Regions from separate parts of the Homo sapiens genome. Here region 2 is linked to region 1. Evidence: promoter capture Hi-C in human tissues and cell types (Jung and others, 2019). All regions are on one chromosome and are shown on one strand. Each heading gives the region's core, a stretch centred on a gene start or on the middle of the fragment in contact. The rest is flanking DNA. Distances are from core to core; before and after follow the strand shown.

Region 1 (5,561 bases), core at 1,798-4,297:
AGAGGAGATGGGATGAGGAATAGTTAGGAGTGTGGGCTTTTGGCCCTGGACTAGAATCTGGCTCTGATTTGGGACAAGTTAGTTAAGTTCCCTGAACCTCAGTTTCCTTATCTATCAAATGGGATCATAAGCATGCCTTCATCATACCGATGAAGTGATGATGAAATAAAATTACGCACGTAAGTTCATAGGATGCTGCCTGACTGGTTTAAGTTCTCAGCAAACTAGAAACACTCCTATTTCCAGAGTAACATTAAGATTTTAAAATGAAGTTTTCTTTTAAACTGAGGTGTTTGGGAAACAGTGCATTTAGGTGACTTTCAGGTCATGAGTCAATGCAATTACCTCCCCATTTACTAGATCTGGGTGTTGGGATCTACAATAAAGTCTCTGAAGAAAACAGGTATCGAACTAAGGAAAGAGCTGAGCAGGGAGCCTCAGTGCTTTGCTGGGGACATCACAGGGTAAATTAACACCAAGAGGCAGCCACGGTCTCCTCACGGAGCTGGGGTACTTTAGGAAGGGCTGATACCAAAGAGGCAGAGACGGCCCTCCAAGGATGGCACCTCAGGGCCCCCCATTGTGCAGAGGGAACTTCCCATACTCACAGCAGCTGCAGAGAAGGCAGATGGGAAAACATTCGGTCCTTGATTTCTGAAAACGTCCCATTTACCAGGCTCCTACGGGCAAAAGATGAACAAAAGTAGGCCTAGGTTTCTTTTAGGAAGTGCCATGCAGGGTGGGTAATCAAACTCTGCCTCCACCTGTACTTCAAACCCTGACTCTCAGGAGTGAGGCATAGCACAGTTGCCCAGGATCTTCCCCGGGGTAGGAATAAGAAGAGACAAGCCACTTCCCAATGAATCAGATCAATATGAAGACTAGTCTGAATAACAGAAACCTTTACCATCAGCTCCTTCCACAGACATTATCTCGGTCAGTTTAAATCAATCCCTTCACTTCCTTTTCTTAACTACAGGAGGTCCTTGCCTGAAAATGGATAATCGCTTCACCTCTGCCCATGATTCTGTTTGTGTAGACACAGCGTTGTGTTGGCCTATGAAATGCTGGGGTAGGATTAAGCATTCCTCTTGGGACCCCATCTCTGAAAGACAGAGCACTCCTGATTAAATGCAACATGAAAGCCCTGGGGAAAAACTCACAGACACCTGAACTCCCCTGTGTGGGGAGAGGCAGTACCATCTGCCAGATAAAACGGTCAACCAGGAGGCAAGATGCTTGGCTTTATTTCTGCCCCCAGGCCCCCATCCTTTCTGGCCACAGCAGGATCTGAATACATTATTTCAGAATTCCTTTCAGTTGGCATGCAGATCACTTAAGCAGCTGCTGGTCTGAAGGATTTAATAAGGGGAACTCTAATTTCTGGAATCCTCCATGTCACCCGACTTAGCAATATTAAGAATCAAAAAGGTCCTCTGTTCCCACCAGCCAAACTCTTCTGACTTTCTATAAATGCAAATGGGAACCCCCTCACTCCTGGGTCCAGGCCCCTACAATTTGCCTTGGGTGGGAGGCTGGGAAGCACTGGACACAAGAAAGTATCTTGAGCACAAGCAACGTCACCCCGGGGATTCCCTGCCTCCACCACTGACTGGGCACCCAGGCATCTTGGCCTGGAACAAGAGAGTGGTCTTAGCAGGAAACATGTCCTAGCAGTAAAGATACAGCCCAACAGCCCCTTCCACCGCCCTTGTGAGAGCTGGTCATTTGGCTTGAGTGGCCAGGTGAGGGCAGGATGAAAGCACCTCTCGGCAGGTGGATACCTAATGTGAAGCCCTTTCCTGTCAGTTCCTCCTGCTGAAAAAGCAGCCAACACAACTGTGTGATGGAGAAAGGGGGCAAGAAGCCCTCCTGACCTCAGGGCAAGAAGGCTGACTTCAAAGCACTTGGCCACTGGGCTAGGCGCCCAACATGCCCCAAACCTCTGCCCAGCCTTCTGTTACCCCTCTTCTAGGCCACGGGGGGCGGCCCCTCCCCTCCCAGAGCCTGCATGCCTTGACCTCGACTTTTTGCAACCTGCAATGTGGAGAAGTCGGGAGGAGGCCACGGGGTGAACATTCGCCCCAGACCTGATGTGGGGCAGTGAGGCCTCACCCTGCCCAGTTTGCACTCAGTCAGGTCGTGTTCAGCTGCTCCTATGCACGCCCCTACACACACAACTCCAACCCGCAAACACACACACACACACGCACACGCCCTCTCAAACTTTAATGCACCCTTGAGTCTCCCGGGGACGTCAAACGCACACTCCAGGACTCCACTCCAAAGACTGCTTCAGAGCAGCTGGATTCTGCATTGGCACAAGCTTCCCCAGGTGAGTCTGATGCAGGTGGCCCGTGGGCCACACTCTGAGAAACGCTGCCACAGGAACCTGTCTGGGTTCCCAGATTCTGGGGCTCAGGTCCTCACCGTCCTCCCCGGGGGCCAACACTCCACCCACGTCCCCCACACAAAGGCAAAGAAGGGGCCTGGGGAGTGGGTCAGGGTCGCGCTGGCCCGGCGCCAGAGGCAACTCCCTCGCGGCGGCGGACGCAGGGTGGGGCGGGACGGGATGGGGGCTGGAGGGGTCCCACTCACAGGGAGCTGATGTCGCCCGGCACGATCCTGGGCACCCAGGAAGAGCCCACGCAGATGATAGACTCCTTGGTACAGCTGCAAGTGGCGGGGCAGCGCGCCAGCCGCCTCACCTGCGCGCTCCGCGGTATCAGGCACGCGGCGCCCAGCAGCAGCAGCAGCAGCCCGAGCGCTCCGCAGCCGCCTCTCCGCAGCGCCATGCCCGGTCCCCGCTCCCCGCCCGGGCCCCGACCCCCACCGCCGCGCCGCGCGCTCGGACCCGGCGCCGCTGCAGACGCGGGCGCCGCTCGCTGCTCTGCCGCCGCCGCTGCTGGCGAGGACTAGGGAGCCGCGGGTGTGGGAGGCCGAGCCGCAGCCGAGCAGCATGCTGGCCGCCACCCCCACTCGGCGCCCCCCCACCCGAGCCCGGGCTGCTGGGCGGCCGCCGCCGCTGCGCCCGCCGCACTCGCGCCTGCCTGACATCAGCACTCGCGCCCGCAGCCCGGCTCTGGCCAATGAATAATGCATGGCGGGGCCCGCCCCGCGGGGGAGGGGGCCAGCGCCGGCCCCGTGGCGCCCCACCCGGCCCCCACCTCGCCACCCCCTCTCGCCCCGGGCCGGGCGCGGGGACAGAGGGAAAAGTTGGGTGACCTTGGGGGAGGGGCCAAGCCTGGCGGAGACCCCCGTCGGGGCCTGACTGAGCGGTGGAGGATCCGATGCCTGCAATACCTCCAGGGGTATAATCTGGGGAGGGCACTGGGTTCCTTTCAGGCAAATCAATAAAGTCGGAGCGGGGAGTGTGGAGAACCGGCTTGATTACTGGGGAGGGAGGCAGCCCTGGGTGCTTTGAAGAGGAGAGACTTTGGAGCAGCCTTTATTAATTTTGAAGTGCATGCTGCCGGTAGGGTCAGCGAGGATGGCTTTGCTTGTCTTCTGCGGTGGGGCAGTGAGGTCTGGCTCTCGCTCCCACAGCACCAGGGGTTACTGAAGCCAGCCAGTCCTCCCATGGGAGGAACGTGGGGAAGCAAAGCCGCTGCAGCCTGCACGCCCGGCGCTCTGGGCCCTGCCTGCTGCCTGCTAAAGAGCTGGAAAGCCCGGGAAAGTTTCCCCTCGCTCAGCTGCCCACGGGTCACCCCACCCGCCCCAGTCAGAGGAGGGTTTGTAGAGATTGAGGGTGTGATACATTCTAGCCACTGTACTTTTAATCTTCTAACCTTTTGAGGCAGGTCCTACTTATATCCTTAATTTATTGATGAGGCTGCTGACGCCCAGAAAGCATCCTGACTGGCTGATGGTCCAGCAGCTCCTGGCTGGGCAGGATGGGGCTCGGAGCCTTGAAGGGCTACCTTAACTGGGCCCTCCTGAGCCCCTCTTCAACTCCTTAAGTTTGAAGCAATGAGCGGAAATCTTAACACAGGTAATGTGCGGCTGAGGAAATCAAAGAAAATGACCAAAGCGGAAACAAAGTAATGGCTAATAACCTGAACTGCTGGGAGAAGGGAATCACAGCACGACTGTCGAGCTGCAAACCAAGGAAAAGCATGCCAGATGCTAAAACCTACTCAGAAAAGTCAGTATCGAATGCAAAAGTAGGAATCATACTATTGCTTCTTCAGCAATTATTGTTGGTGATCCATTGACAAGATCCATGAGGACGGTATCAGGCTGGCTGCTGTGGGAGGGAACAAAGGAACAGCTCCTGTCCTCAGGGAGCTAAAAGTCTAGCTGGACAGACAACCCTAAAAGAGCAACTCCACTGGCTACAAGGGGGTCACAGACTGACCAAAAGAGGTTCAGGAATTGAAAGAGAGCTTTGCGTAGGCAACTTCATGGAGGGAGTTAGACATTCCCTGCTGGTGACTATGTAAAAAGCACCTGGCATCAGTACAAACCAGCCTGCATTTATCATCATTTAATTCTTGCATCTGTCCTGAGAAATGGGTCCTCCCATTTTATGGATGGGAACATTGAGCTCAGAGAAGTTTTTATCTTGTCCAAGATCACACAGGACATGGCCAGGGAGATCATACTCCACAACTGGCTGCTGTGTCTAACCCTCGCTGCTGTGTGGGCATGCATTTACAAATACTTTACTCAGCAAGCCCCAGTGTTAGGGGCTGAGGACACAGACCACAGCCTGGGAGGGCGACAGACATGCAGACCCACAATCGTGGATGTGTGTGCTGTGCACCTGAAAGATGTTTCCCTTAAGAGGGATGGGCTACTGCTTTATAGAGCAGAGGAACGGAGGCTTCTCAAACAGAGCACTCCCTGCTGACCCAGGAAAAGAAAATCTATTTCTCACCTCTGAGTGAGAGCCTGGGGGCAGGGTGGCATAGCTAAATGCTGGCCTCAGGACTAGACAGGTTGGGGTTTGCATCCCAGCCTACCACTTACTGATGTGTAATTGTGTAATCCCAGCCTGCCACTTACTGCTGTGCAAGCTGTGATCTTTCTAAACCTCCATTTCTTCACCTGTAAACAAGAGGTTGTTGTAACCACATTTGGGGGTTAAATGAGATCAAGAAAGTAAAGCATTTAATACCACAAAGGAGGCACTGGGCGTTTGAGCAGAGTTCTATGTGACTAGATTGTAGGTAAGTGACGGAGAGAGGACTATGGAGGGAGATGGGTTTTCCTGACTTCTGTCCTTCCATTGTAATCAGAGTCACTGTCTTGTGTTGTGGTTCTCAATTGCGGGTAATTCAGGGGACACTTGGCCATGTGTGGAGATATTTGGGGTGGGTGCCCCTGGCGTCTAATGTGTAGAGGCTGGGGACGCTACTAAACATCTTGCAGTACTCAGCAAGAATGATCCAGGTCAAAATGTTGCTAGAGCCAAGGTTGAGAGAGCCTGGCTTAGTGTTCTGGAAAGACCCTTGGCATGAGGAATTCCAGAGATGCAGATTGTAAGTCAGGTTCATCAATCACAAGCAAACCTTCTTGGTCATGTTATTCCCATCTCTAGCTTCTATTTTTTCATCTAT
Region 2 (5,561 bases), core at 1,157-3,656, 100 kb before region 1:
CCTCCCACTTCCAGCTTCCAAATTTCTGTTTCAATGTTTCTGTTTCTATTGCTGCTGATTCTGTTCCTATTGCTTCCAAACTTGGTAACACAGAATAACCATTTTATTATTCTCACAGATTATGTCGGTCAGGAATTCAGAAATGGCGTAACAGGGAAAGCTTGTCTCTGCCCTGTTTAGGGTCTCAGCTGGAAACGCTTGAAGGTTGGGAGTGATTCCCTGCTTGGGACTGTGGATCGTCTGAAGGTTTCTTCAATCGCATGTCTGGCACCTGGGCTGGGAGAACTTGAAGACGAGGACTGTTAACTGGAGCACCTACACGGGGCCACTCCATGCCACTTAGCTTCCTCGCAGCATGGCAGCCTCAGGACAGTCACACTCCTTACAGGCAGCACGGCTCCTAGTGTGAATGTTGCAGTGGACTAAGCAGAAGTGGCATTGCCCTTAAGACCCCCAGCCTCCGAAGTCAGGCATGGTCACTTCTGCTACATCCCATAGGTTACAAGGAAGTCCCAAGCTTGTCTGGATTTGAGGGAAGAGAACACAGACTTCTCTTGATGAGAGAATATCAAGGTCATATTGTAAAGGAGTACATGAGATGTGAGGTTCTTGCAGCCATCTTTCGAAAATATAATTTCCCACATCCAGGAAGGTCATTACTGACGAAGCAGAACTGAAACTCAGTTGTGTTTATGGCCAGACCCCTGTTCTTTCACTATACCATGCTGATGAGTCAATAGCATCATTTGCATGAATGAAAGATCTTACGTTATTAAAAAGAAAAGTTGAAACGTAAGGCAAGATGCCAAATTCAGTCTCAATTGAACATTCTCTGTATTACAAATGCAGCATAAATATATGTTTTCCATAGCTCTTGCAGAGCAAACAGCTGCGTTTATTTGCATCCAAAAACATGGAAAAATTCCAAACTATAAGCAAAGAACTCAAGAACACGACTCAAACTTCTGTAAATGTAAATCTTCATAAAAATAGTTGTAACGTTGATTAAAGCAGGTGCTGAAACCTTCTCCTAGCCTGAAGTATTCCACTTACAAACAACCCCCTTCCCGTATAATGATGTAGTTTTCTAGGAACTACTCGTATATTTGGCTAAGCAGTCAAATGCCTATTAAACTTCCTTATATTAACTTGATCTACCACCTCCTCCTCCATCTCCAACATACACCAACTCTGGTTCTCTCTACACTCATGCACACACACACACATACATTCTTTCCTGTATCACCCTGGAGTCCTTTAAGAGTTCCTTAGATCTTTACAGGGGATATATATATGCTTGGCTTGAAAAAAAACTCAGCGTACCTATACCTGTGCACATCCATGAAATCTAAGTGAATTTCTTCCTTTTGCCCCATGAATAGAGTCTAGAAGAAGGATAGAACCAAAAAAACCTCTATAAAATGGCTCACCCCTTTTCCTCCCTCTATCACATTCTATGTCTGGTCTGGGAATCTGAAAATGTCAGGCAATACATTGTTCGCTGTGATTGAGCATTAGCAAGAGAGTTCTTTGAAAGGATTCTATTACATCTTTATGTCTTTGCATATAAACTTGGACTTCCCTAAAAACTCAGTTCAAATTTGATTTGCAGTGAAAATTCTTGAAATTGTGGTAAGGATTTTAAGAGATAAAGAAGGAAAACACTATTCAGGGATTACTGTGTGCAAAGCAACATGCTCGGTATTTTTCTAGAGACACGTACATTGGACTGTGATAGCATAAAAGAGGTTAAGATTAATACTATGTGTTGATGATGCAGGTGCCCAGGAAGGAGAAGATGGCGAAGGGGAGGAGAGGGTAGGGCATTGTGAGGGAAAGTGGGCACAAGCTTTTCCTGAAGGATGCCTAGGAATTCCAACAGAATGGATGGTATGCATAAAAGTCGAAGGCTTAACATGGACCACCAGTATTTTTCATTTTCTTCATGAAATCACTGACTCCTTCTCATTGTCAATATATGAATCTAACCATGACTGGGTGATCCAAGAATCCCCTCTCAGCTCCTACTACTCTTGTTCTTGCTTTCTTTGCTCCAATCACACTCACCTGGCCCTTTCCCACCTCAGGGATCCCCTGCTTGGAATGCTCTTCCAGAACTGTGAAAGATAAATTTCTGTTGTTTTCAGCCACTGAGTTCATGGTAATTTGTTACAGCAACCCTAGGAAACTGACACAGGTGCTGTCATGGTCTTCACAGGGCAGAGGTGTCTTCCTGTCACTCCCTAATGTGTCCAAAAGCTGAAATGAGTCCAGAAGGTCAGGAAGGCAAAGAACAAGAGGAATGGGGTGAACTTCATGTGACAGGCGGGGCAGCACACTTCCCCTTTTCAGGTGACATTTATGGTCAACTGAAATGATCTTGCATTATTGCTAAACTTCATCTGCCAGGTTGCTACAGTGTCATGCATTGAGCTATGTGTCCGCCTAATTTAAACAAAGAATCAGTGCCCTTTTTGCAGAGAGCTTTTATCCACTGGTTCTTTTATGAAAGGCCAAGGTATGGAAATCTAGCCTCTACACCAGGGTTTTGCCATCCCATGGTCTGGTGAAGATGCTTGGTCCCATTCCAAGCTGGCCTAAATGTGCTGGTTTATGACTTCTGTGTTTCCTAAACTGATTGCCAAGCAGCCCTGCTCTGCTGATTCTCAAAAACAGCCCGTCGTCTGCAGCACTTTTTCTCATGTGGGCTCCCAGGGAGTGGGAATCGGCTCTCAGCGGCTCATGAATCATGGTCTCCAGGATTCTTCTCAGAGGCAGAAAGATTTCTGGGTAGATGAGAAAATTTTACAAAATCTCTTCTCCCTCCTAATCCTTAGCGCCACCACCGCTATCATTTCCATAATCATCTTTATAATTATTTGAAGTGGAAAGGGGGCAGGGTACCTGCTTAATGAAAAGTAGATGGGAAAAAATAGAAACTGTGGAGATAGGTGATTGAATAGCCTCTCTCAGAAATGCACATCATGTGTGATTATGGAGAGTTTGAAAGATCAGACCTCAACACCCTTTTCCAACGTAAACTCTGTCTCTCCTCTTCTTACACCCTTCACCGCAGTCCAAGTGAATCTCTGACTTTCTGTCCTAAAGACCTCCTGATTTCCTCCCTCTGTGCCTCTGCTTATGTTTTGCCTAGAACACCCACTCACATCGCAGAATCTTCCAGCTAGCCCTGCTTCTGAACTCCTGAAAAGTCTTATCTGAGCCTCTTTGGGAGCTCTTGTCATTTTCTGCTTTATATTTTATTGCTTATATAATATTTTTTCCCTACCTGATTATGAACTTTAGACCGTCTCTCTGACTCTCTGCCTCTCCCCCCATCAACCAACAAGCATGCACTTTGAATGCAGGTGCTCAACAAATGTCTATGGAAAGAACAAGAAACTAGAAGTTTACTATCATTCTTTTAATAGACAAGAATGTGTTGACAAGAAAAGTGTTTATCAAAGCCTGCTATGATTCTCCAAACACTTTTACACCTTTCCTCTTTTTCCTGGACATACAGACAAATGACATTTACTTGCCTGTTTTTCAGCTGGAGGAGACCCTGTAACTGGGTGAGTGGAAAGTGAACAGAAATGATGTGTGCCACTTTTAAACCTGCATTAAATCTCCATGCATGACCTTCCATTTCCTTTCCCCTCTGCCAGCTTGGTACAGGTAAGCATGGTGACCTTGGAAACCACAGCTAGGAGCTGGCAGAGCCAGGAGACTGAAAGAGCTTGCATCCCTGAGTCATCACATGGAGGGAAGCCACCTACCATTCAGAAGCACCATTTTGGGATTCTGTGTAAGAAATAAATGTGTCCCATGTTTCAGCCATTGCACAATTTTGGGTTTATGTGATTACATAAACAGAATGATTACAGCAGCTAGGATTACCTTAACCAGTGTAATAAATAGGCTTTACTATTGCTGAAAAAGTACAAAAACTACGATTCTTGGTTTTCTTAGGCAAATGATTTTTTTCTACTTTGGGCACAAATATGTCCACTTTAAAATTTTAATTTTTGTTGTAGGGTATTTAAAGACCACTCCCATTTCCAGAAATGTTCTCACTCAGCCACTCCCCAACTCCCTGCCCCCTCAATGAGGGGAAGCAGAAAAGGTTTTGGTTGTTCTTCCTAGAAGTTGTCATACTGAGATATTATTCCAGTTTCAACAGCAAACAAGAGGGTTCCTGCTACTCTAGACAGGGAGAGTTTATAGAGATAAGTTAGAAATCATGATAAAAAATTTCTGTTTTAGAGATCATAAAATTTAACTTTTTTTGATACTAACTTATAAAACAAACTTCTGGTGTTCTGAGCTAGAGAAGGGAGGGACCCTCTGGCACAAACTCATACCTAAAATTATAGAAGGCTCTTGCTCTTCAAAGGATTCTCACTGGTACTACCTGCTTGGTGTAATTATTCCAGGTAACACATACTTAATGGTTTCCTCTTGCCTCGTGGAATAAAGTCTAAACTCTTTTGTCTGGAATTTAAAGCCTACAGTGATGTAACCCTAGCTTTTCTTTCTAATCAAATATGTGTTCAATATGCTGTACTTTGTCCCATTTCTATTTTTTTAGGCTGTTCCACCATGATCATCATATATATGTATATGTGTGTATATATATATATGTATATGTATACATACATAATGTATTATAAAATATTTGTATATATTGTATAATATGCATATGTATCTGTGTATGTATATGTGTATTTATATATGTTTATTTATTTTAAAATATATATATATATATATATATCTCAGTACAGGCAAGGCTATGCCACAGAGCAAAATTAAGCCTAAACTCCCAGTGCCTTAGCACATGATAGGTTTATATTTTGCTCCTACTACATATCCATTGTGAGGTGTGTGTGTTTGGGTGGGGGGATGTGTCTCTGCTCTACACCACCACTCAGGTACCCAGGCTGATGGGCTTTCTAACATCTTTAGCTGCAACACCTGGGGTTAGTGACCTTCTCATTCACTGCAGCAGAAGAGAAGAGAGGCCAAATGAGCCAGCACTTTTATACACATCGAATTGGCTAGAACTAGTCACATGACCCTAATTGCAAAAGCACTGGGGATCAAGCAGGTGGAGGTTATGCAGTGCATATTTTTATGAGCATTATTGTCTTTGCCACTTATGCATCTTCCAGAAAGCCTTCCTGGTTTCCTCTGGCTACAAACAATGTCTCCTGCCTCTGAATTCTGGCAGCACTGTAATATGTTCCTCCCTTATATTGTATGGAGAGTATGTATATATATATATATATATATATGCATAATCCATATCCATGTCTATATAAAATAAAAATCACTTACTATGTCAGACACTCTTCTGTTTATATTTATTAACTCATTTAAATCCTCATAGTAACCCTATGAAGTAGCTACACTTTTTGTGTCCAACTTACAGGTGAGAAAACTGAGGCACAGAAAGGCTTACAGGTGAGAAAACCGAGACACAGAAAGTGTAAGTGTTCTAACAGGATTCTAGCACAGCCAGTTTAGTTCCACAGTGCTTGCTCTAAACTATTATATTATAT

What was found. Contacts are between HindIII fragments. The study calls those that stand out against the background at their distance.
Region 2: a fragment that was not itself captured here is called in contact with the fragment with the promoter of LGI2 in region 1 in 2 of the 25 tissues and cell types used here (H1 embryonic stem cells and dorsolateral prefrontal cortex).

Annotation. Positions count from the first base shown.
Region 1 is chr4:25,027,899-25,033,459 of GRCh38, forward strand. It overlaps LGI2 (leucine rich repeat LGI family member 2), which reads right to left and starts at 3,048. Exons shown (of 8, transcript NM_018176.4): 1 at 2,599-3,048; 2 at 609-680. The coding sequence starts at 2,795. It overlaps LOC124900684 (a long non-coding RNA gene), which reads left to right and starts at 2,210. Exons shown (of 2, transcript XR_007058083.1): 1 at 2,210-2,335. The HindIII fragment of the contact is 9,452 bases long and covers 1-5,561 here.
Region 2 is chr4:24,926,559-24,932,119 of GRCh38, forward strand. It overlaps a transcript of CCDC149 not described here. Among named protein-coding and RNA genes, the nearest start is that of CCDC149, 16 kb to the left of the region's middle. The HindIII fragment of the contact is 7,343 bases long and covers 1-5,561 here.